4 separate regions of the Homo sapiens genome follow, and all the other regions are linked to region 1. The links are contacts of gene promoters, found by promoter capture Hi-C in human tissues and cell types (Jung and others, 2019). All regions are on one chromosome and are shown on one strand. The core of a region is centred on a gene start or on the middle of the fragment in contact, and the rest is flanking DNA. Distances in the headings are between cores, read along the strand shown. Region 1 holds the start of SH3BP2 (SH3 domain binding protein 2). Region 2 overlaps ZFYVE28 (zinc finger FYVE-type containing 28). Region 3 overlaps RNF4 (ring finger protein 4). Region 4 has its middle 5.4 kb from the start of FAM193A.

Region 1 (5,440 bases), core at 1,215-3,714:
GCGCCTGGTCCGTCCACACTGTCTGCAGTGACCCTGCTCCGTCAACTCTGAGCTTGGCATCTGAGGCCAGCCCTGTACACCCTGCCCTGTAGTCAGGCCCTGGCGGGGCCGCACCGACGTTTGGCTTTGCTCCACTCCCCTCCCGGTCTCTGCCCCTTTCCCCAGCTGGTCCCCTGGGAACAGGACACTTGCTGTGACCCAATGGCATCTGCTCATTTGTCCATTTGCTCCTCTCGTGAGCCACAAGGGTAGGGACTTCCTTGTATCATCTTGGGTCCCCGGGGTCTGGTGTGGGGCCAGGCATTTATTTAGCTGAACTGGACATCAGGGACATCAAGATGTACAGCCCCAAGGTCATGAGTGTTTTGTCAGGAGCCTTAGACCAGTCTGGCCCAGCCTGGAGCTCCCTCCGCATGTGGCCTCTTACAGGAGTGACGCAGCCCCATGCGGTGCTAACAGTGGCAGCACTGAACGTCGGATGGGGCTGAGCCCAGCCACTTCCACAATGGCTGTAGTTCCTATCTCTTCCTCCCTGCTAGGAAAATGTGAAATAGCCCAGAGTGGGGGGTGGGCAGAAGAGTTGCAGGCTACCCAATGCTGGGATGAGCAGAGTTGAGACCTGGGGAGCCAGGCCCAGGACACTTACAGGTGGGGATGTGAGCAGGCACCCCAGAGAGTGAGCACCCCAGCCAGCCAGCACCCATCTACTCCCTCACTGGGGTCTAAGTTCAGCCCCGAGAGCTAGGCTGTAGGTGGGTAGAGTCACAGCCCCAGCGCCGGTGTGAGGGGTGGCCCTGGGCCAGGTAGAGTGAGTATCTGCCTGCTGTCATGCCCCATCCACTTCTGCCGCCTCCCCAGTAGAGGACCCCCTCCATTTCACAGATGGGGAAAAGGGGCCCTGTTGTCTGAAGACTCTCCCATATCCTCCCCTGCCTCTGCCATCCCCTGCTTTGTCCCTTCCCTTCCAGAGGCCCTGCCTTGGTCCTGGTCACTTCCTGGTAGGCACTGGCTCTTCCTCTATGCCTGGGCTCAGGGCCTGGCCACCTAGTTTTCTGACTCCTCCCACTTACTCCCCTCCCCAGTTAACCTCTCTGATCCCAAGTGTGTCTCTCCAGCAGGGAGGAGGGCTATTGCAGCCAGGGATCCCCTTTCTGAGGCTTGGGACCCATTATTGGGCAGCTCTGGGACAGGTGGACGGTGACTTGGCCCACACTCGGTCCAGCTGCAACCCTGAGAACCCGCTTGGTTTGGCTGTGTCTCCTGGAGGCCCTCAGGTATTTCAACCTGTAGGACCCAAACCCAGTCCTTCACCTGCTGCAGGGCCAGCCCTGGACACCCCTGCCCCTGCCTGATTTGGAGCAGCCAATTCAGCCCCTGTCATTGGACTCTGGCCTCTTGTGCTCAGTACAGAGGGTCAGACCTTGGCCGCCTGCCTGGACAGGGCCAGGTCACCACCACCCACCCCCAGCTCCCTTGGGTTCCCAGCAAGATCCTGTCCTTCCTCTACTCACAGCTTCCTGGGCTCTGGGACCTGGGGTCCAGTCCCCACTCCTCATGGGGAGGAGTCCCCCCACGCCCCAAGCAGTTGACTCCCGCACTGGTGGGGGGTCCGCTCGCCCTCAAGCTCTGCAGGCCCAGCTTGGTCTCCCCAGCCTCTTCACTTTCTCCACGGCTCCCTCCACCTACCTGGCCCTGAGAGCTCCCCAGGGAAGCCATTTCCTCCCAGGAAGCCCCTCCTCTTCTCGCCCCTGCCCTTACACCAAGGCATCTGGGCCTACTCTTAGGGAGAGGGTGATGGTGGAGGAAAGGGAGCCTCAGAGGAGGCCAAGTGTAAAGCACCCGGTCTCCTGTGCCTCCCAGCCCCAAGACGACCTCTGGGCCACCGGAGTCCAGACCTGGTCCAAGAGGCGAGGTCCCCCTGGGAAGTGCCTGAAAAGTACCCTGGAGGACATTTGGAAACAAAGACAAGGTTTCCTGGTGCCCAGCAAGCCCTCCCCCACCTCCCCTGCTCCTGTCTTGGCCAGGGCCTAAGTCGCACTCACGGGGCAGGGGTGGGGCCGCCCAGGATCAGGACCACGGGGCTGGGGGGGTGGACAGCGCCCTTTCCACCTGGGTCGCTGGGCACTGGGGTGTCACTGGGAGGGACACGCAGGAGGGACAGACACGCTACCTCACTCACGGGCGAGAACTAAGCACCTACTGTGGACCCGGCGTCTAGGCCCGCGACAACGCCAGTCTTCGCCCCCCAGGGGCCTCGTCCCGGGGCCGCGGAGGCCACGTGCAGTTCCCCGCCCACCCTGAGGTACCGGCCCCGCCCCACGCCCAGCTCGGACCTCCAGGATTGCGGGACCCGCCGGGGAGGGGCGGGGCCGGGGCGGGGCCAGGAGGAGGGCGGACTGGGCGGGCGCGGGCGGGACGGAGCTGCGGCGGCGGCGGGTCCCGCGGGCGGGAGCGCCTGGCGGCCGAGTCAAGCCGCCGCCTCGACCCAGGGCCCGCGGGCCAGGAGAGCGCTCGGCGGGTAAGCCTCGGCGGCGGGTCTCGGCGGGTCTCGGGGGTCTCGCGGGGGGGCGGTCTCCGCGTCTGGAAGGGGCTCGGCGGGCCTTGGCGGTCTGGGGGCTCTCGGCGGGTCTCGGGGGTCTCGGGGGAGTCTCGGGGTCCCGACAGGTCTCGGCGGGTCTCGGGGGTCTCGGGGGAGTCTCCGGGGAGTCTCAGGGGTCCCGGCAGGTCTTGGCAGGTCTCGGGGGAGTCTCAGGGTCCCGGCAGGTATGGGCGGGTGTCGGGGGTCTCGGGTGCGCAGCAGCCTCCCCCGGGCCCCGGGGCCTCCGTGTCCTTGCCAAAGGACGCACGGGGCCTGGGCACGGCGGGCAGTGCCCGAGGGAGCGCGGCTTCGGGGCGGGGGCCGGGTGTCCCTTGCCGGGGGCTCAGGGGTGGGAGGCGGTGCGACGCGTCTGTTTCGCACCCCTCGCGCCCCTCTGGCCCCGCGGCGGGGCCCCTTTACGCGACCCTCCCCACAAGACTCAAAGGCTGCGGCGGGCACTCGCTCTCCGCCCTTCCCGGAATCCAAACTTCCCTCTGCAGCGGCCGCGCTTCACGGAGGGCAAGAAAAGCCGCCCACTGGCGCTGATTCACACTGAAGTGTGAGTGACTGATAGCCGGGCGTCTGAGACTCTCATGGGCAACAGGGAATCTCAGGGGTGGCAGAGGGACTGGAGGAGTTAGGGGGCGGGGACAGCCCCTTCCACCTGTACGCTGGCCTCCCTGCAGCCCAGCACTTTCCCGCTGCTCTGGGCCTCGGCTCCCTGGGGGTATTGAGGGCCTGAGCCCTGCTGTGGGGAGCCTTCTGCTGGTGCTCCTTTCCGTGAGCACCTCCTATCCCCTCTCTGTGCCTCAGTTTGCTCATCTGTTGACACTGGGGACAGCTGTGCCTCCTGGTCTAGTGGCCACACTTAAGTCCTTCGAATTGGCTGTGGCCAGGGGCGGGTACTCCGTGTGGGCTGCTGGGGTGGACAGCCTGCCTGGATGACATGTGTGTGGCCTTGCAGGTGACATGGGCCGGTGATGCAATGTGTAGAATTGTTTCCACAACCGCCTGAAGGCAGGGCCCACAGCCTCCTCCTTGCCGAAGCAAGCCTCTGGGTTCAGGTCAGCCCTGCACCAACTCCATGAGCCTGGACAAGCTCCTGCCCTCACTGGCTCAGGCCCTGTGGGACCAGAGGAGGGGCTGGGCTCCACCCCCTCCTGGTTCTTCCCACTCTGTCCACTGTCTCCTCTACGTAGACACCGTCGAAGGGCCCTCTTGGAGCCCAACCTCAGGGCCCCACTCCAGGCACTCCACTCCTGGCAGGACAGGAGGCCTGGGACGAGGGCTGCAAGGGAGTGAGGATTCTGTCTATCCCCTCTCCCTGCCACCCGCCAGGCTCCCTTTGCCTGGCTCTGTGCCCTGCGTTAGGCACACCCTGGAGGGGGCAGGCAGAAGGAAGACAGATAGGCAGCCGTGTCTAGGAACTGCCAGCCAGGGCCATCTGGTGAGAGGGGTGCTGACAGGGGACCTGGCCTTTCAGGGAGTCCCCAGGCCTCCAGGATCATGGGGGAGCCCACCAAGGAGGCTGGCCTGAAGAGGCAGACAGAGGGAGGACAGGCTCTGGGCCTGCCTTGGCCCTTTCTGCCCACATGGACAGAGGAAGCAGGGTGCTGAGTCAGCTGGAGCTCCCCACCCCCCAGGGATGCACGCACACAAGCAGGCCCACAGACGGGAAGTCCAGGGGCCCAGAGAGACGAGATGGCCAGCCTTGGTTCCTGAGGGGCAGGGAGGAAGGGCGCAAACTCAGCCAGGATCTTGGGTGTGAACTCAGATGCCACCAGTTTCCAGCTGTGTGATCATGGCCAGGAGGCTTCCCCCTGCCACCCCTCCGTTTTCTCATCCATGACCTGAGGGCTGTGAAGCACTTTGTACCTGGTGGGTGGCTATGAGTGTCCGTAGGGGGGATGGTGGTGGTGGTGACATGTGCTTGGTATTCAGTGACAGTGGGTCGCTGAGGGTGCTCTCCCTGGTCCTCAGGGCCGCTGTATGTCCTGTTTTGGGTGGGGGCAGGGACTGGCCTGGAGAGGCCTGGGTAAAGGCCAAGGCTCCCAGGTTCCTGCCCACATTGGACTAAGGCCTGAGTCCATCAGGAGTGGCCAGTGTTGGGCAGCCCCTGGGTCTTCCTGCGTTCTGTCCTCAAAAGCTCCCTTGTGGGGACACCCCAGGTCAGTGACTATGTGTGGCAGGCTCTGCCCTCCTCACTCTCTGTCCTCTCTTGACCTCATGATCTGCCCACCTCCCAAAGTGCTGGGATTACAGGCGTGAGCCCCCACGCCTGGCAGAGTATATAGTTCTTTAATAACCGGGTGGCTTGGCCATCACTGTGCAGCCTGGGTGGGTGAGGAGAAGGGCAGGCTGGCGGGGAAAAGACGGGGAATTTGCCACAAGGTGAGAGCTGTCCTACCCCAGACGCAGTGGAGCGGCTCCCACCCCTCGGGCCAATGAATACAGGGTGGGCCGTCAGGAGGAGGGATCTGAGCCGGGCGGGCAGCCATGCAGGTACAGACAGACTAAGCCAAAGGCGGGCGGTAGGGAGGGTGGGAGACCAGTTTGACGGGAGTGGCCTTTGCATGCCAGGTGTGGTGAGGGTATGGAGGGGCCTGGGAGGCAAGGAGAAGGGGCCGTGCAGACCCTGGAATCCTTCCTCCAGGATAGGCGGCTCCTCCCCAGAAGGCCTCTGCATTCTTCTGGTGGCCCTGTCTGGACACCGAGGGGCTGGAGACAGTCCCACGTGTGGGCTGCCTAAGTCCCAGAGGGGGTGGTAGGGAGCATTTCAGGCTCACTGGCTGGCCCCCTTCCCTGGGGCACTGGACCCTCCTCACCACCCCTTGGCCTGTGCACGGGAGGGTAGACAGGATG
Region 2 (5,440 bases), core at 1,539-4,038, 410 kb before region 1:
CCAGGACCTCAAATTTAAAGCTCTCTCCTCTTAACAGAATCAGGAAAAACCAAGCTGACAGCTAAAATGTTCGGCTGAAGTTCACAAGAATGTAGAGGCTCAGATTGTCAGCACATTATAATCATTGACATTTAGCAACAAAATTGGCCCATCACTCCTGGACGACAAATCGCCCCCATCTGACTGCCCCTCCTTAATAAATAGGGCAGGACTCCTCCTGTGCAGAGATGGCACGCGCACCTCTGCCAACTCGAATTCACATTGCCACCCCACCTCCCTCCTGTAATTTTATCCTCATGGGATACATTTCTATGCTTCAAAGTCCTTACTGATCATCTATCAAATTTTTCTACAACATATATATCAATATTACATATTTATAAATCTATAAATGGGATTTAAATTTTTAAATTTTCACACTTTTTTTTTTGAGACAGAGTCTTTCTCTGTCACCCAGGCTGGAGTGCAGTCGCACAATCTCAGCTCACTGCGGCTTCCATCTCCCGGGTTCAAGCAATTCTTGTGCCTCAGCCTCCCAAGTATCTGGGATTACAGCCATGAGCCACAGTACCCAGCTAATTTTTGCATTTTTAGTAGAGATGGGGTTTTGCCATGTTGCCCAGGCTGGTCAAATTTTTAAATTTTCTGTGAGGCACTGAGTGTTAGCATTTTCTCTGCACTGAGTCGACAATGTAGACACTGCAATTACTTTTGCAACAACCTAATAGTATTAGTATACAATCGATCAAACAACATAAACATGTGACACATCTTGGTACACCATCATTTCACAGAAAGGTGTCTCATAGAAATGTAGTTCTTGATGGGGTGGATGCATCCGGGGTTTTCTGACTAGCTGTTGTCTCTTTGGGTAACTCACTAGTTGCCAAAGTAGGCTGGCCTCAGCTGCAATGCTGTTCCTGCGTTTTGACTTAGGTAAGTGCCAAGAAACCTGCTCTCATGGCTGAGTTAGCAGGAGCGGGGAGAGCAATAGAGGAACTTCCTGCCACTCCAAGAACAACTGCCGAGTTATCGGCTAAGAATCATTGCTTCATGACCAAAAGTCATTCTTAACGCCCTGTCAGCTGCAACTCAACCAAGTCCTTCTTCAATTTTATTGAAGTCAAAGCAGCAGAAACCACCTGGTTTGAAGGATTTGTCATTGGCATTGTCCGCTCCTTGGTCCTGTGGGCCACCTTTTGATATGTTTTGGCTGTGTCCCCACCCAAATCTCATCTTGAATTATACTCTCGTAATTCCCACGTGTTGTGGGAGGGACCCAGTGGGAGATAATTTGAATCATGGGGGTGATTTCCCCCATACTGTTCTCGTGTGAATAAGTCTCACAAGGACTGATGGTTTTATCAGGGGTTTTCGCTTTTGCATCTTCCTCATTTTTCTCTTGCCACTGCCATGTAAGAAGTGCCTTTTGCCTCCTGCTGTGATTCGGAGGCCTCCCCAGCCATGTGGAACTGTAAGTCCAATTAAACCTCTTTTTCATCCCAGTCTCAGGTATGTCTTTATCAGCAGGGTGAAAATGGACTAATACAGTAAATTGGTACCAGTACAGTGGGGTATTGCTGAAAAGATATCCGAAAATGTGGAAGCAACTTTGGAAGAGAATAACAGGCAGAAGTTGGAACAGTTTGGAGGGCTCAGAAGAAGACAGGAAAATGTGGGAAAATTTGGAACTTCCTAGAGACTTGTTGAATGGCTTTGACCAGATGCCTGATAGCAACATGGACAATAAGGTCCAGGCTGAGGTGGTCTCAGGTGGAGATGAGGAACTTGTTGGGAACTGAAGCAAAAGTGACCCTTGTTATGTTTTAGCGAAGAGACTGGCAGCATTTTGCCCCTGCCCTAGAGATTTGTGGAACTCTGAACTTGAGAGGGATGATTTAGGGTATCTGCGGGAAGAAATTTCTAAGAAGCAAAGCATTCAAGAAGTGACTTGGGTGCTGTTAAAGGCATTCAGTTTTATAAGGGAAGCCAAGCATAAAAATTCGGAAAATTTGCAGCCTGACAGTTTTTGTTGTTGTTGTTGTTTTTGAGACAGAGTCTCGCTGTGACACCCAGGCTGGAGTGCAATGGTGTGACCTTGGCTGACTGCAACCTCTGCTTCCCAGGTTCAAGCAATTCTCCTGACTCAGCCTCCTGAGTAGCTGGGACTACAGGCACGCACCACCATGCCCGGCTAATTTTTGTATTTTTAGTAGAGATGGGGTTCCACCGTATTGGCCAGGCTGGTCTCAAGCTCCTGACCTCAAATGATCTTCCCACCTCAGCCTCCCAAAGTGCTGGGATTATAGGCGTGAGCCACTGCATCCAGCTGTGACAATGTGATAGAAGAGAAAAACCCATTTTCTGAGGAGAAATTCAAGCCAGCTGCAGAAATTTGCTTAAGTAATGAGGAGCTGAACGTTAATCCCCAAGACAACTGGGAAAATGTCTCCAAAGCATGTCAGAGGTCTTCAGGGCAGCCCCTCCTACCACAAGCCCAGAGGCCTAGGGGAAAATGGTTTCATGGGCCAGGCCCAGGGTCCCTGTGCTGTGTGCAGCCTAGGGACTTGGTGCCCTGTGTCCCAGCTGCTCCAGCCATGGCTGAAAGGGGTCAATGCAGAACTCAGGCCATGGCTTCAGAGGGTGCAAGCCCCAAGCCTTGGCAGCTTCCACATGGTGTTGAGCCTGCGAGTGCACAGAAGTCAACAATGAGGGTTTGGGAACCTCCACTAGATTTCAGAGGATGCATGGAAACACCTGGATCCCCAGGCAGAAGTTTGCTGCAGGGGTGGGGCACTCATGGAGAACCTCTGCTAGGGCAGTGTGGAAGGGAAATGTGGGGTTGGAGCCCCCACACAGAGTCCCTACTGGGCACCACCTAGTGGAGCTGTGAGAAGAGGGCCACCGTCCTTCAGACCCCAGAATGGTAGATCCACCAACAGCTTGCACCATTTGCCTGGAAAAGCTGTAGACACTCAATGCCAGCCTGTGAAAGCAGCTGGGAGGGAGGCTGTACCCTGCAAAGTCACAGGGGTGGAGCTGCCCAAGACGATGGGAACCCACCTCTTGCACCAGGGTGACCTGGATGTGAGACCTGGAGTCAAAGGAGATCATTTTGGAGCTTTAAGATTTGACTGTCCCGCTGGATTTCGGACTTGCATGGGCCCTGTAACCCCTTTGTTTTGACTAATTTCTCCCATTTGGAATGGCTATATGTACCCAATACCTGTACCCCCATTGTATCTAGGAAGTAACTAGCTTGCTTTTGATTTTACAGACTCATAGGCAGAAGGGTACTTGCCTTGTCTTAGATGAGACTTTTGACTGTGGACTTTTGGGTTAATGCTGAAATGAGTTAAGATTTTGGGGGACTGTATTAGTCCATTTTTAGGCTGCTGATAAAGACACGCTGGAGACTGGGAAGAAAAAGAGGTTTAATTGGACTTACAGTTCCATATGGCTGGGGAGGCCTCAGAATCACGGCAGGAGGCAAAAGGCACTTCTTACACGGCAGCAGCAGGAGAAAATGAGGAAGAAGCAAAAGCAGAAACCCCTGATAAACCCATGAGATCTCCTGAGACTTATTCACTATCACGAGAAAAGCATGGGAAAGGCCAGCCCCCATGATTCAGTTACCTCCCCCTGGGTCCCTCTCACAACATGTGGGAATTCTGGGAGATATAATTCAAGTTGCGACTTTGGCGGGGAAACAGCCAAGCCATAACAGGGACTGTTGGGAAAGCATGATTGGTTTTGAAATGTGAGGACATGAGATTTGAAGGGGCCAGGGACGGAATTATAAGGTTTGGCTGTGTCTCCACCCAAATCTCATCTTGAATTGTACTCCCATAATTCTCACATGTTGTGGGAGGGACCTGGTGGGAGGTAATTGAATCATAGGGGTGGTTCCCCCATACTGTTCTCATGGTGGTGACTAAGTCTCACGAGATCTGATGGTTTTATCAGGGGTTTTCACTTTTGCATCTTCCTCATTTTTCTCTTGCCACCTCCACGCAGGAAGTGCCTTTTGCCTTCCGCCATGATTCTGAGGTGCCCCCTGCCCCACAGCCACGTGGAACTACAAGTCTAATTAAACCTCTTTTTCTTCCTAGTCTCAGGTATGTCTTTATCAGCAGCGTGAAAACAGACTAATACTCCTTTCCCTTAGTGGCAGCGCACTTATCCCAATGCCCAGGATGACCTGGGGAATCAAATGCTGCTTTCGGTCACCTCCACTGACCCGGTATCTTCTGTTAAAATGCCTTTATCTTTTCATATCACGCTTCAAGTGTCAAAGCCTTGGCACCATCAGTGCAGACTGGAGTGAATGGCAGGCCACACACTGGAAGGAGGAGGTACGCTTCACATTGGTTGGGATTTTCCAGCAGGCCTTCCACAGATCTAGAATATTCTATTCCTAAGAGACCCTGACAGACAAGGCTAAGGGCCTTTCTCTGTGTGTGGTGTCGCTGGCGTGTGTTACAGACACTCGCTCTCCAGGAGCCATCTCCAGGAGCCATTCTTTCACAAGACTGGAGAAAATGAGGTCGTCACACAGGGTCATCACTCACAGTCTCTCTCAATGATGCCCTGATGACCTAAGATGTCCCCATCACCCTGAAGTGTCTCCACTGGGGCTGTTCTGCAAAGAAGGGCCTTGAGGAAGACAGGCAAGAGGGTAGGGCACATGTCCCACACAGGCAGAGTGATTTTTGGACTGGGGTACACAGAGTAGATGCAGTGTTGGGTTCCCACATTCTACCCACAGGGAAGAGGCCCCCGGGACTGTCAGCCAAAGTCAATGCCACAGAGCCCTCTCCTCCCCGGGTACTTCGACAAACGCTGAGGAACCGAGACTGCACTGCTGACAGAAGAAACTTTCTGGAAGGAATTCCCTTTATCTGCGAAGAGGAAACTGGTTTTGTAGGAAAGTGTGAAAGCTTCTGTACCCTACAGATTAAGTTATTCAAGAAGGGTCAGAGGGAAGTGACCACCCGCCAAGGGAGTGAACAAGTGCTCAGGGCTGCCCAGGGTCACTCCAGCTGCCTGGTTTCCCAGGACAGGGCTGTGACTGACCACTGGAGGGGGCACAGGCAGGCCACCAGGACCGTGACAAATGCAGTTTGGGAGCAGGAGTGAGTTTAAGCAAGAACGAGAGGAGGGGAAGGGACCAGGCAGCACCCAAGCAGGAATCTCCTCCTGAGGGAGTGCTGGATGGGGTGGGGGAGCAGAAGCACAGAGGGCCGACCCCTCAGGGCCCGGTGGGAAGGTAGGTGGGGAGGGAAACAGCCTTACCTGCCAGGATCATAGGGGGAGCATGGAAACACACAGCCAAGACTTGTGAACAAATGAATGACTGAATTACTTCAGAAAAATCTTTATTTAATTCAGCATAGGAAAAGAAGACAAAGGCCAGGAGCCACCTCACTCACCTGGAGTG
Region 3 (5,440 bases), core at 1,008-3,507, 300 kb before region 1:
GAGGCTGAGGCAGGAGAATCACTTGAACCTGGGAGGTGGAGGTTGCAGTGAGCCCACTGCACTCCAGTCTGGGCAACAGAGTGAGACTCCGTCTCAAAAACAACAACAACAACAACAAAAAAAAACTGAGTGGGATGTGATATCACACAGCATTTTAGGGCTTGAGCAGAAGGTTGGAGCTGGTCACTGGGAAGGTTTATTTGGAGAGACTGCCAACCTGGTGCTGTGGGGCTGAGTGTGGTGATGGGTATGTGTCAGCCCACAGACACTGAGCCTTTCCAGTGTGCCTGCACTGTTCCAAACACTCTCTTGTAATAACTTCTGGAATCCTCACACACCATTAAGGTAGGTGCAGTTCTGTTCTATAGATAAGGAAATGGGGCACAGAGAAGTTCAATGCCATGCCCCAAGGTCACAGGTTGGGGTTTGCAGGTGCCTGGATTTTATTTTCATTTTTTATTTATTTATTTATTTTTTTGAGATGGAGTTTTGCTCTCGTTGTCCAGGGTGGAGTGTAATGGCATGATCTCGGCTCCTCTGCCTCCCAGGTTCAAGAGATTCTCCTGCCTCAGCCTCCCAAGTAGCTGGAATTACAGGCATCCACCACCACTCCAGGCTAATTTTTTGTATTTTCTAGTAGAGACGGGGTTTCACCATATTGGCCAGGCTAGTCTCAAACTCCTGACCTCAGGTGATCCACCCGCCTTGGCCTCCCAGAGTGCTGGGATTACAGGTGTGAGCTACTACACCCGGCCGATGCCTGGATTTCAATCTCAGTTGCCTGGCTCAAGAGATGTGCCCTAATTGCAGTGCCAGCCTGGCTCCACACACCATGCTTAGGAGTTAGGCCTTGATAAGGAGCCAGGGAAAGTTGCTGCGGCAAATGTTTCGGAAAGATGGCCTGGCAGTAGGGTAGACGGGCACCCAGGGACAGGAGACCCAGCATGAGCAGGCATGGTAATGGTGCACAGGAGGATGACACGGCACAGCACTGGGGATGCACAGAAGGGTGGATGTGAGAGCGTTCCTGTCGTTTCCGCCACCTGGATCCCTCTCACCTGTGTCTGTTTTGCAACTCCATCTCGTTATGCTACTTCAGTACGTTCCATGGTGTGGTCTCTGGAAGCAGCACCTGGGAACTTGTTAGATACGTAAATTGGAGGGCCTAGCAGGCTGTGCTTAACGAGCCCTCTGTGGGGGAGCCTGATACAGGCTCATGCTTGAGAAGCACTCTCCTAATCTAAGCCACTAGCACCCAGCAGTGGGTGGCCACAAGGGTCTTGTCCTTGCTTTGGCTCTCTCTCAACCCTCAGGCTTGCCTGTGCTCAGGGCTTTGTGGCTCCATTAACCATGCGTCGCTGACGCTGAGTTTACCGTGGTCGGCCTCGCTTCTCAGTGAAGTCCAAGGGCCTCGCAGCCTCTGCATCTGGTGATTTCTCTGCCTTTCCTCAAAGCTTCTGCTTGGCTGCCTAGTCCACAGCCTCCCGATTCACCATTCACCTGGTCCCAGCAACAGAAGTCTCAGCTGGACACACAACATGCTTTAGAGTGAGTGGCTCTTGTCTTCTCAACTCCGGACGGCGACAGTGAAATTGTGGGAAGAACCTGAGGCTCTGAGCTGTGGCCTCAGAAGCTCTGTCCCTTCCCTTCTGGTTCCTGAGGAGTTGGTGTGGTCATGTGTGGCAGTCCTGACTCGCACCTCCTCCCAGCAGTTAGCACGGTACCTTGCCAAGGTGGCAGGAGCCAGGAAGAAGAGTAGGAGGTGGCATAATAATTACAATTGCAGGCTTTGGGATCAGGAAGTCCTACATGCGACAAGAATGCTTACTTCCTAAGATGAATATAGGATTAAGGATGTCATTGCGTGAAATAGTAAGCAAATAACCTAGGGACAGGAAGGACCAGTACATTATTGAGCTCAGCTTTGTTTCAATGATGTAAGTGGCAGTATTTATCAAATTAATATCTTTGTTTTTCAGGACTTGAAAATACTGGAAATCTGTCCGGATCCAAATTATTTTGCAAGCCAGATGAGTAACCAGAGGGCATGAAAGGTTGAGAACATTTGACTTCCCTGCAAACCTTGGTATAGATCACTTCCTTTTCTGTAGGAAAGGAAAGGCACCAAAGAGCACAATGAGTACAGTAAGTTTTATCATCTCTTGAATTTTTAATTTTGTAGGGCTAATTAACTACCTTATTCCTTGTAGCACATTAGTGAAAGTGAGTTCCATAATGTCACTTCTAAGTAACCCCACTTCTTGAAGGAGTATGTATAGGAGCTTTCTGGTGGTTACATCAGCTTACTTACCGACATTGAGCTACATTCGAGTCATAAAGGGCAGAGCCCTGAAGACAAAAGGCTGAGAAGGAATAGCTTAGGGTTTGGTAATCTCAGACCTTCACAACAGTTGTCAGTGTCATAGAAATACTAAAACTTTTTGCTTTTTAAAATTGTTTGTAGACTGGGCATGGTGGCTCATGTGTAATCTCAACACTTGGAGGCGTGAAGGTAAAAAGATTACTTGAGCCTAGGACCAGCCAGGGCAACATAGGCCCCATCTCTACAAACAAACAAAATGTAGCCAGGCGTGGTGGGGCGCACCTGTAGTCCCAGCTACTTGGGAGGCTGAGGCAGGAAGATTCCTTGAGCCCAAGAGTTCAAGGCTAGCTATGATCACACCACTGCATTTCGGCAGGATGACTGAGTGAGACTCTATAAAGTATTTGCAACCCAGTTTTCTGTTTTCCCGTCTGTTTTGTTTCCCTGTGACATTCTTGGTTCATTCAGTGTGAGCATGGTAGTAATAATCCATAGTGAAAAGTTTCTTATATTCACTGACCAAAGTTGATTCGTCATTATAATTACTGTTTAGCGCTTTTGTTTGTTTGTTTTTGAAACAGGGTCTCGCTCTGTCACCCAGCCTGGAGTGCAGTGGCCCGACCTCGGCTCACTGCAACCTCCACGTTCTGGGTTCAAGTGATTCTTGTGCCTCAGCCTCCCACATAGCTGCGATTACAGGCATGCACCTCCCCGCCCAGCTAATTTTGTATTTTTAATAGAGACCAGTTTTTGCCATGTTGGCCAGGCTATTTTGGTTTGTTTTTTGAGATGGAGTCTGTTGCCCAGGTTGGAGTACAGTGGTACCATCTCGGCTTGCTGCAACCTCCGCCTCCCAGGTTCAAGCGACTCTCCTGCCTCAGCCTCCGGAGTAGCTTGGATTACAGGCACCTACCACCACACCCAGCTGATTTTGTATTTTTAGTAGAGATGTGATTTCACCATGTTGGCCAGGCTGGTCTCAAACTCCTGACCTCAAGTGATCTTGGCCTCCCAAAGTGCTAGGATGACAGGCATGAGCCACCGCACCCAGCCGTTTTTATTTGTTTTTAAGAGACAGGGTCTCACTCAGTCTCCCAGTCTGGAGTGCAGTGGTGTGATCATAGCTCACTGCAGTCTCCAACTCCTGGAGTCAAGCAATCCTTTCACCTCAGCATCCTGAGTAGTTGGGATCATAGGCATGCACCACCGCACCTGGCCAATTTTTAAGAAAAAATTGGCCAGGTGCGGTGGCTTATGCCTGTAATCCCAGCACTTTGGGAGGCCGAGGTGGGCGGATCACGAGGTCAGGAGATCAAGACCATCCTGGCTAACACGGTGAAACCCCGTCTCTACTAAAAATACAAAAAATTAGCCAGGCATAGTTGGCGGGCGCCTGTAGTCCCAGCTACTCAGGAGGCTGAGGCAGGAGAATGGCATGAACCTGGGAGGCGGAGCTTGCAGTGAGCTGAGATCGTGCCACTGCAGTCCAGCCTGGGGGCAGAGCAAGACTCCATCTCAAAAAAAAAAAAAAGAAAAATCATTTTTGTAGGCATGGAGTCTTACTTTATTACCCAGGCTGATCTTGAACTCCTGGCTTCAAGCAGTCCTCCCACCTAGGCTCCCAGAGTGAGCGACAATACCCAGACTGTTTAGAGCTTTTATCACATCTGTGAGACAGCTCTGGTTTGGTGTAATTCAGGTGTCTCCTGGAACCCCTTGAGCTCTCGAGGAGATTACCTGAAGGTCCCCCTGTCCCAGTTTATTCTCTACTGACAGAGTTCTCACTGCAAGTTTGTTCAAATGATCTAAACTCAAAACATCTGTTGTCTGAGATCCTGAATTCCTTGTCAGACAGACCAGATGTGAAATAGCCTGCTGATTTCTTCCAGTGCTCCAGAAGTACTGTGAATGGTATGGGAAGATGGATGGTGGGGACAGGTGAGACTGAACAAACAGCTGTCAGAGGGAACAGTGATGGAAATGCTGGTCACACCCTCTGAGCCTTTTGGGTCCTCACCCTCTTCTGTTACTTCCTGGCCGCCATTGTGCTCCAGGGCCCACTTTTGATGGTGATACACAAAAAAGCCCACTTCTTTGACCTCCCACCTTGGTGCTTCACCTGCAGGTTACCATGTAGCTCACCTATGGGGAAATAGGTGCTTTAAGCCTTAACCCATCTCTGCTTAGGCCAGATCAGAACAGGCAAAACAATGTAGCCTTTTGTGCATGTGTGTGAAGAAATTGGTTAAAATTCCTGAAAGTTACGGTGTGGTTATAGCTTATGTGGTTGTGATAGGATGGTCAGTTTTCACCAAAAGCTATGGACCTCTGAGGGCCCTGCTAGTGAAAAGGAAGAGAATTATGACCAGAATTATGGGAGGGCCAGAGTGGGGAGCTCTGCAGATATTCCTGGATTGATTGAGCCTGTCTTGAGTGGTGCAGGGAAGCTACTTGGGAGGAGGAGGCTCAGAGACAGCAGAGTGGGAGGGTAAAGGATGTCCTCAGGAAGGAGGTGACATTTGAGTGGGTTCTGGAAAGCTGTGCAAGAATTGGCCAAGTAAAGAAAGGGAGGGACAGGCACTCCAGGCAGGGAAGAAGCTCTGGTTAAAGGCATGGAGGGGTCGATAGAGCAGGCAGAAAAGAGGATTCCTGAGGTTAGGGAGGGGTGGGGACATTCCTGTAATTATCCGTGAGGGGAGATTTTGGGTCCAGGACCCATGGCTGCTTTCTTGGCTCCCTCAGTGGGGCCCAGAAACCACACAGGTAGCTGTGGGACATGGAGGTCTGCTTAGCAGTGCCTAGTAAGAAAGACTTGGTCTGCTACAGGCTGGGCATGGTGGATCACAAGGTCAGGAGTTCGAGACCAGCCTGGCCAACATGGTGAAACCCCGTTTCCACTAAAAATACAAAAAAATTAGCTAAGCACAGTGGCGGGTGCCTGTAATCCCAGCTACTCGGGAGGCTGAGGCAGGAGAATCGCTTGAACCTGGGAGGCAGAAGTTGTGGTGAGCCGAGATCATTCCACTGCACTCCTGCCTGAGCAACAGAGTGAGACTCCGTCTTAAAAAAAAAAAAAAAAAAAAAAGACTTGGCTACAAGGGAAGGAGCCTATACGAG
Region 4 (5,440 bases), core at 961-3,460, 260 kb before region 1:
GACCAGCCTGGCCAACATGGTGAAACCCTGTCTCTACTAAAACTACAAAAATTAGGGAGGCCGAAGCGGGCGGATCACCTGAGGTCAGGAGTTCAAAACCAGCCTGACTAACATGAGGAAACCCCGTATCTACCAAAAATACAAAATTAGCCGGGCGTGGTGGTGCATGCCTGTAATCCCAGCTACACGGGAGGCTGAGGTAGGAGAATTGCTTGAACTCAGGAGGTGAAGGTTGCGGTGAGCCAAGATCACGCCATTGCACTCCAGCCTGTGGCAACAAGAGCGAAACACCATCTCAACAAAAAAAAAAGAAAGAAAAAGAAAAAGCCAGGCACTGTGGCTCACACCTGTAATCCCAGCACTTTGGGAGGCCAAGGTGGGTGGATCACGAGCTCAGGAGATCGAGACCATCTTAGTTAATGCGGTGAAATCCCATCTCTACTAAAAATACAAAAACTTAGCCAGGCATGGTGGCACGAGCCTGTAGTCCCAGCTACTTGGCAGACTGTGGTGGCGTGCACCTGTAATCCCAGCTGCTAGGGAGGCTGAGGCAGGAGAATCGCTTGAATCCGGGAGGCGGAGGTTGCAGTGAGTAGAGATTGCGCTGCTGCACTGCAGTGTGGGCAACAGAGGAAGCCTCCAGCTCAAAAAAAAAAAAAAGTTTTGGCTCGATGTGGTGGCTCACACCTGTAATCCCAGCACTTTGGGAGGCCGAAGCGGGCGGATCACCTGAGGTCAGGAATTTGAGACCAGCCTGGCCAACATGGTGAAACCCGGTCTCTGCTAAAAATACAAAAATTAGCCGGGCGTGGTGGCAGGTGCCTGTAATCCCAGCTACTTGGGAGGCTGAGGCAGGAGAATTGCTTGAACCCAGGAGGTGGAGGTTGCAGTGAGCTGAGATCGCACCATTGCACTCCAGCCTGGGGGACAAGAGTGAGACTTCGTCTCAAAAAGAAAAAAAGTAAGTTTTGTATTATACATATTTTATAGCAATTTCTTTTTTTTTCTTTTTTTTTTTTAGACGGTTTCTCACTCTGTTGCCAGGCTGGAGTGCAGTGGCTTGATCTTGGCTCACTGCAACCTCCACCTCCCAGGTTCAAGTGATTCTCCTGCCTCAGCCTTCTGAGTAGCTGGGACTACAGGTGCGCGCCACCATATCCAGCTAATTTTTTGTATTTTTAGTAGAGACGGGGTTTCACCATGTTGGCCAGGATGGTCTCTATCTCTTGACCTTGTGATCTGCCAGCCTCAGCCTCCCAAAGTGCTGGAATTACAGGTGTCAGCCACTGTACCTGGCCAACAATTTCTTAAAATGCAAAACTAAACAAAAGGAGAGTTTAGCATAAAATAATATGAAATACATAGGAATAAGTCTGACAAAAGATGTGTCAGGCAAGTACACTAAACCTCAAAACATTGCTAAGACTAAATAAATGTATATAAATATAGCTCACGAACTGGAAGATGCAATAATGTTTAGATATCACTATCTACAAATTCATCTGTACATTACCACAATCTTTGTTAAAATTGACCAGATTTTTTTAAAGAAATTGACAAGCTGATTCTCAAATTCACATGAAATTCACAGGAATTTCATATGAATATGAATATGCAAAACAACATTGGAAAGAATAGTCTGGATGAAGTGGCTCACGCCTGCAATCCCAGCACTTTGGGAGGCCATAGCAGAGGATCACTTGAGCCCAGGAGTTCGTGACCAGCTTGGGCAACATAGTGAGACCCCATCTCTACAAAAATAAAAATAAAAAAATAGCTGGGCATAGTGATAGGTGCCTGTGGTCCCAGCTACTCAGAAGGCTGAGATGGGAGGGTCACTTGAGCCTGGGAGGTCCAGGCTGCAGTAAGCTGTGATTGAGCCACTGCACTCCAGCCTGGGTGGTAGAGTGAGATCCCATTTCAAAATAAACAATAAAATAATAAAGTTGGACCGGGTGCAGTGGCTCACGCCTGTAATACCAGCACTTTGGGAGGCCGAGGCCGGCGGATCACAAGGTCAGGAGATCGAGACCATCCTGGCTAACAGAGTGAAACCCCGTCTCTACTAAAAATACAAAAAAATTAGCCAGGTGCGGTGGCAGGCACCTGTAGTCCCAGCTACTCGGGAGGCTGAGGCAGGAGAACGGCATGAACCTGGGAGGCAGAGCTGGCAGTGAGCCGAGATAGCGCCACTGCACTCTAGCCTGGACGACAGAGCGAGACTCCATCTCAAGAAAAAAAAAAAAAAAAAGGCTCATGCCTGTAATTCCAGCACTTTGGGAGGCCGAGGTGGGTGGATCACGAGGTCAGGAGTTGAAGACCAGCCTGGCCAAGACAGTGAAACCCCATCTCTACTAAAAATACAAAAAAATTAGCCTGGTGTGGTGGCAGGTGCCTGTAATCCCAGCTACTCAGAAGGCTGAGGCAAGAGAATCCCTTGAACCCAGGTGGCAGAGGTTGCAGTGAGCTGAGATTGTGCCATTGCACTCCAGCTGGGTGACAGAGTGAGACTCTTTCTCAGAAAAAAAAAAAAAAGGTAAGCATATCTCTTCCATATGACCACTCTTAGGTGTTTACTTAAGAGAAATGAAAACGTGTTTATATGATGACTTGTACATGAATGTTCTGGTGTTTTTGTTTGTTTGTTTTTCGGTTTTTTTAATTTATGAATGTTGATAGTAACTGTAATAACCAAAAACTGGAAACAACCAAAATATTCATCAACAGATAAATGTATAAACAAACTATGAGACATCCATGCAGTGGAATACCACTGAGCAATGAAAAGGAATTTTTTTTTTTTGAGATGGAGTCTCACTCTGTCGCCCAGGCTGGAGTGCCGTGGTGCGCTCTCGGCTCTCTGCAACCTCCGCGTCCTGGGTTCAAGCGATTCTCCTGCCTCAGCCTCCCAAGTAGCTGAGACTACAGGCGCCTGCCACCACACCTGGCTAAATTTTTGTATTTTTAGTAGAGACGGGGTTTCACCATGTTGGCCAGGATGGTCTTGATCTCCTGACCTCATGATCCGCCCACCTCAGCCTCCCAAAGTGTTGGGATTACAGGCGTGAGCCACTGTGCCTGGCCAAAGAATGCATTATTTTAAAAACGTTTTTGTTATATAAATTCTTTTTATTTTGCCCTTATTATGTTTCATTGACATATAATTGTACATATTTATGAAGTACAGTGTGATAATTTGATACATGTATAGAATGTGTAATGATCAGAGTAGCATATCCATCACCACAAACATTTATTATTTCCTTGTGTTGCGAACATTCATAATCTACTCTTCTGCCTATTTGAAAATATACAGTAAATTTTTGTTAATTACAGTCACCCTATAGTGCCAGCCATAGAACACTAAACTCATTTCTTTTACAAAGCTGTACTGTTTTTTTTTTTTTTTTTTTTGAGACAGAGTCTTGCTCTCTTGGGCAGGCTATAGTGGCACAATCTCAGCTCACTGCAACCTTCATATCCCAGGCTCAAGTGGTTCTCCTGCCTCAGCCTCCCAAGTAGCTGGGAGTACAGGCGTGTGCCACCATGTCCAGGTAATTTTCGTATTTTTAGTAGAGACGGGGTTTCACCATGTTGGCCAGGCTGGTCTCAAACTCCTGACCTCAGGTGATCCGCCCGCCTCGGTCTCCCTAAGTGCTGGATTACAGGAGTGAGCCAAGGCGCCCAGCCTCAAGCTGTACTTTTGTATCCATTAACCAACCTTTGGCTATCTCCCTCTCCCCACTACTCTTCCCTACCTCTAGAAACCACTATTCTAAGCTGGGCACAGTGGCTCACGCCTGTAATCCCAGCACTTTGGGAAGCCTAGGCAGGCGGATCACAAGGTCAGTAGTTCGAGATCAGCCTGGCCAACATGGTGAAACCCTGTCTGTACTAAAAACTTAGCCGGACATGGTGGTGCACCTGTAATCCCGGCTATTTGGGAGGCAGAGGTGGGAGAATTGCTTGGACCTGGGAGGCAGAGGCTGCAGTGAGCCGAGATCATGCCCTGCACTCTATCCTGGGCAACAGAGTGAGACCCTGACTCAAAAAAAACAAAAACAAAAACAAAAACAAAAATTACCCAGGTGTAGGCCAGGCGCGGTGGCCCACGCCTGTAATCCCAGCACTTTGGGAGGTCGAGGCAGGCGGGTCACGAGGTCAGGAGATCGAGACCATCCTGGCTAACATGGTGAAACCCCGTCTCTACTAAAAATACAAAAAATGAGCCGGGCATGGTGGCGGGCGCCTGTAGTCCCAGATACTCAGGAGGCTGAGGCAGGAGAATGGCGTGAACCTGGTAGGCGGAGCTTGCAGTGAGCCGAGATCGCGCCACTGCACTCCAGCCTGAGCGACAGAGCGAGACTCCATCTCAAAAAAAAAAAAAAAAAAAATTACCCAGGTGTGGTGGCGCGTGCCTGTAGTCCCAGCTAGTTGAGAGGCTGAGGCGAAGAATCACTTGAACCCAGGAGGCGGGGAGGTTGCAGTGAGCCAAGATCAGGCCATTGCACTCCTGCCTGGGCAACAAAAGCAAAACTCTGTCTCAAAATACATAAATAAATAAACAAAAAATAAAGAAATCACTGTTCTACTCTCTTACTTCTATGAGATCAACTTTTTCTTTTTTTTGCTTGCTTGCTTTTTTGAGACAGTTTTGCTCTTGTCATCCAGATTGGAGTGCAGTGGGATGATCTCAGCTCACTGCAACCTCCGCCTCCCGGGCTCAAGTGATTCTCCTGTTTCAGCCTCCTGAGTAGCTGGGATTATAAGTGCCCGCCACCGTGCCTGGCTAATTTTTGTAGCTTTAGTAGAGACGGGGTTTCACCACGTTGGCCAGGCTTGTCTTGAACTCCTGACCTCAAGTGATCCACCTGCCTCACCCTCCCAAAGTGCTGGGATTACAGGTGTGAGCCACCGCACCCAGCCAAGATAAACTTTTTTAGCTTGCACACATGAGTGATAAAGTGGTACTTATCTGGCCAGGCCCAGTGGCTCACGCCTGTAATCCCAGCACTTTGGGAGGCCAAGGCGGGTGGATCAAGAGGTCAGGAGTTCGAGACCAGCCTGATCAACATAGTGAAAGCCCCATCTCTAATAAAAATACAAAAAAAATTAGCCGGGCATGGTGGCGGCTGCCTATAGTCCCAGCTACTCGAGAAGCTGAGGCAGGAGAATGGCGTGAACCCGGGAGGCGGAGGTTGCAGTGAGCCACGTCGCGCCACTTCACTGCAGCCTGAGTGACAGAGCAAGACTCTGTCTCAAAAATAAATAAATAAAATAAAAATAAAAAAAATAAAGTGGTACTTATCTTTCTGTGCCTGGCTTTTTCACATCACATAATGTCCTGCAAGCTCATCTATGTTGCAGCAAATGACAGAAATCTGGGGGTTTTAATGGCTAAATAGCATTCCAAAAAATTGTGCTCCCTTGTGTATATAGC

Evidence for each region. The method cuts DNA at HindIII sites, captures the fragments that hold promoters and counts their contacts. A contact is called where the count stands out against the background at its distance.
Region 2: a contact is called between a fragment that was not itself captured here and the fragment with the promoter of SH3BP2 in region 1, in 1 of the 25 tissues and cell types used here (H1 embryonic stem cells).
Region 3: a contact is called between a fragment that was not itself captured here and the fragment with the promoter of SH3BP2 in region 1, in 1 of the 25 tissues and cell types used here (spleen).
Region 4: a contact is called between a fragment that was not itself captured here and the fragment with the promoter of SH3BP2 in region 1, in 1 of the 25 tissues and cell types used here (mesendoderm cells).

What each region holds. Positions count from the first base shown.
Region 1 is chr4:2,790,621-2,796,060 of GRCh38, forward strand. It overlaps SH3BP2 (SH3 domain binding protein 2), which reads left to right and starts at 2,465. Exons shown (of 13, transcript NM_001122681.2): 1 at 2,465-2,518. RefSeq lists a silencer at 2,183-2,532. The HindIII fragment of the contact is 44,064 bases long and covers 1-5,440 here.
Region 2 is chr4:2,379,376-2,384,815 of GRCh38, forward strand. All of the region lies in intron 1 of ZFYVE28 (zinc finger FYVE-type containing 28), which reads right to left. Among named protein-coding and RNA genes, the nearest start is that of ZFYVE28, 37 kb to the right of the region's middle. The HindIII fragment of the contact is 4,819 bases long and covers 380-5,198 here.
Region 3 is chr4:2,488,358-2,493,797 of GRCh38, forward strand. RNF4 (ring finger protein 4) reads left to right here. Exons shown (of 8, transcript NM_002938.5): 2 at 1,980-2,145. The coding sequence starts at 2,137. Among named protein-coding and RNA genes, the nearest start is that of RNF4, 22 kb to the left of the region's middle. RefSeq lists an enhancer at 1,177-1,957. The HindIII fragment of the contact is 4,826 bases long and covers 1-4,670 here.
Region 4 is chr4:2,528,560-2,533,999 of GRCh38, forward strand. No RefSeq gene overlaps it. Among named protein-coding and RNA genes, the nearest start is that of FAM193A, 5.4 kb to the right of the region's middle. The HindIII fragment of the contact is 7,357 bases long and covers 1-5,440 here.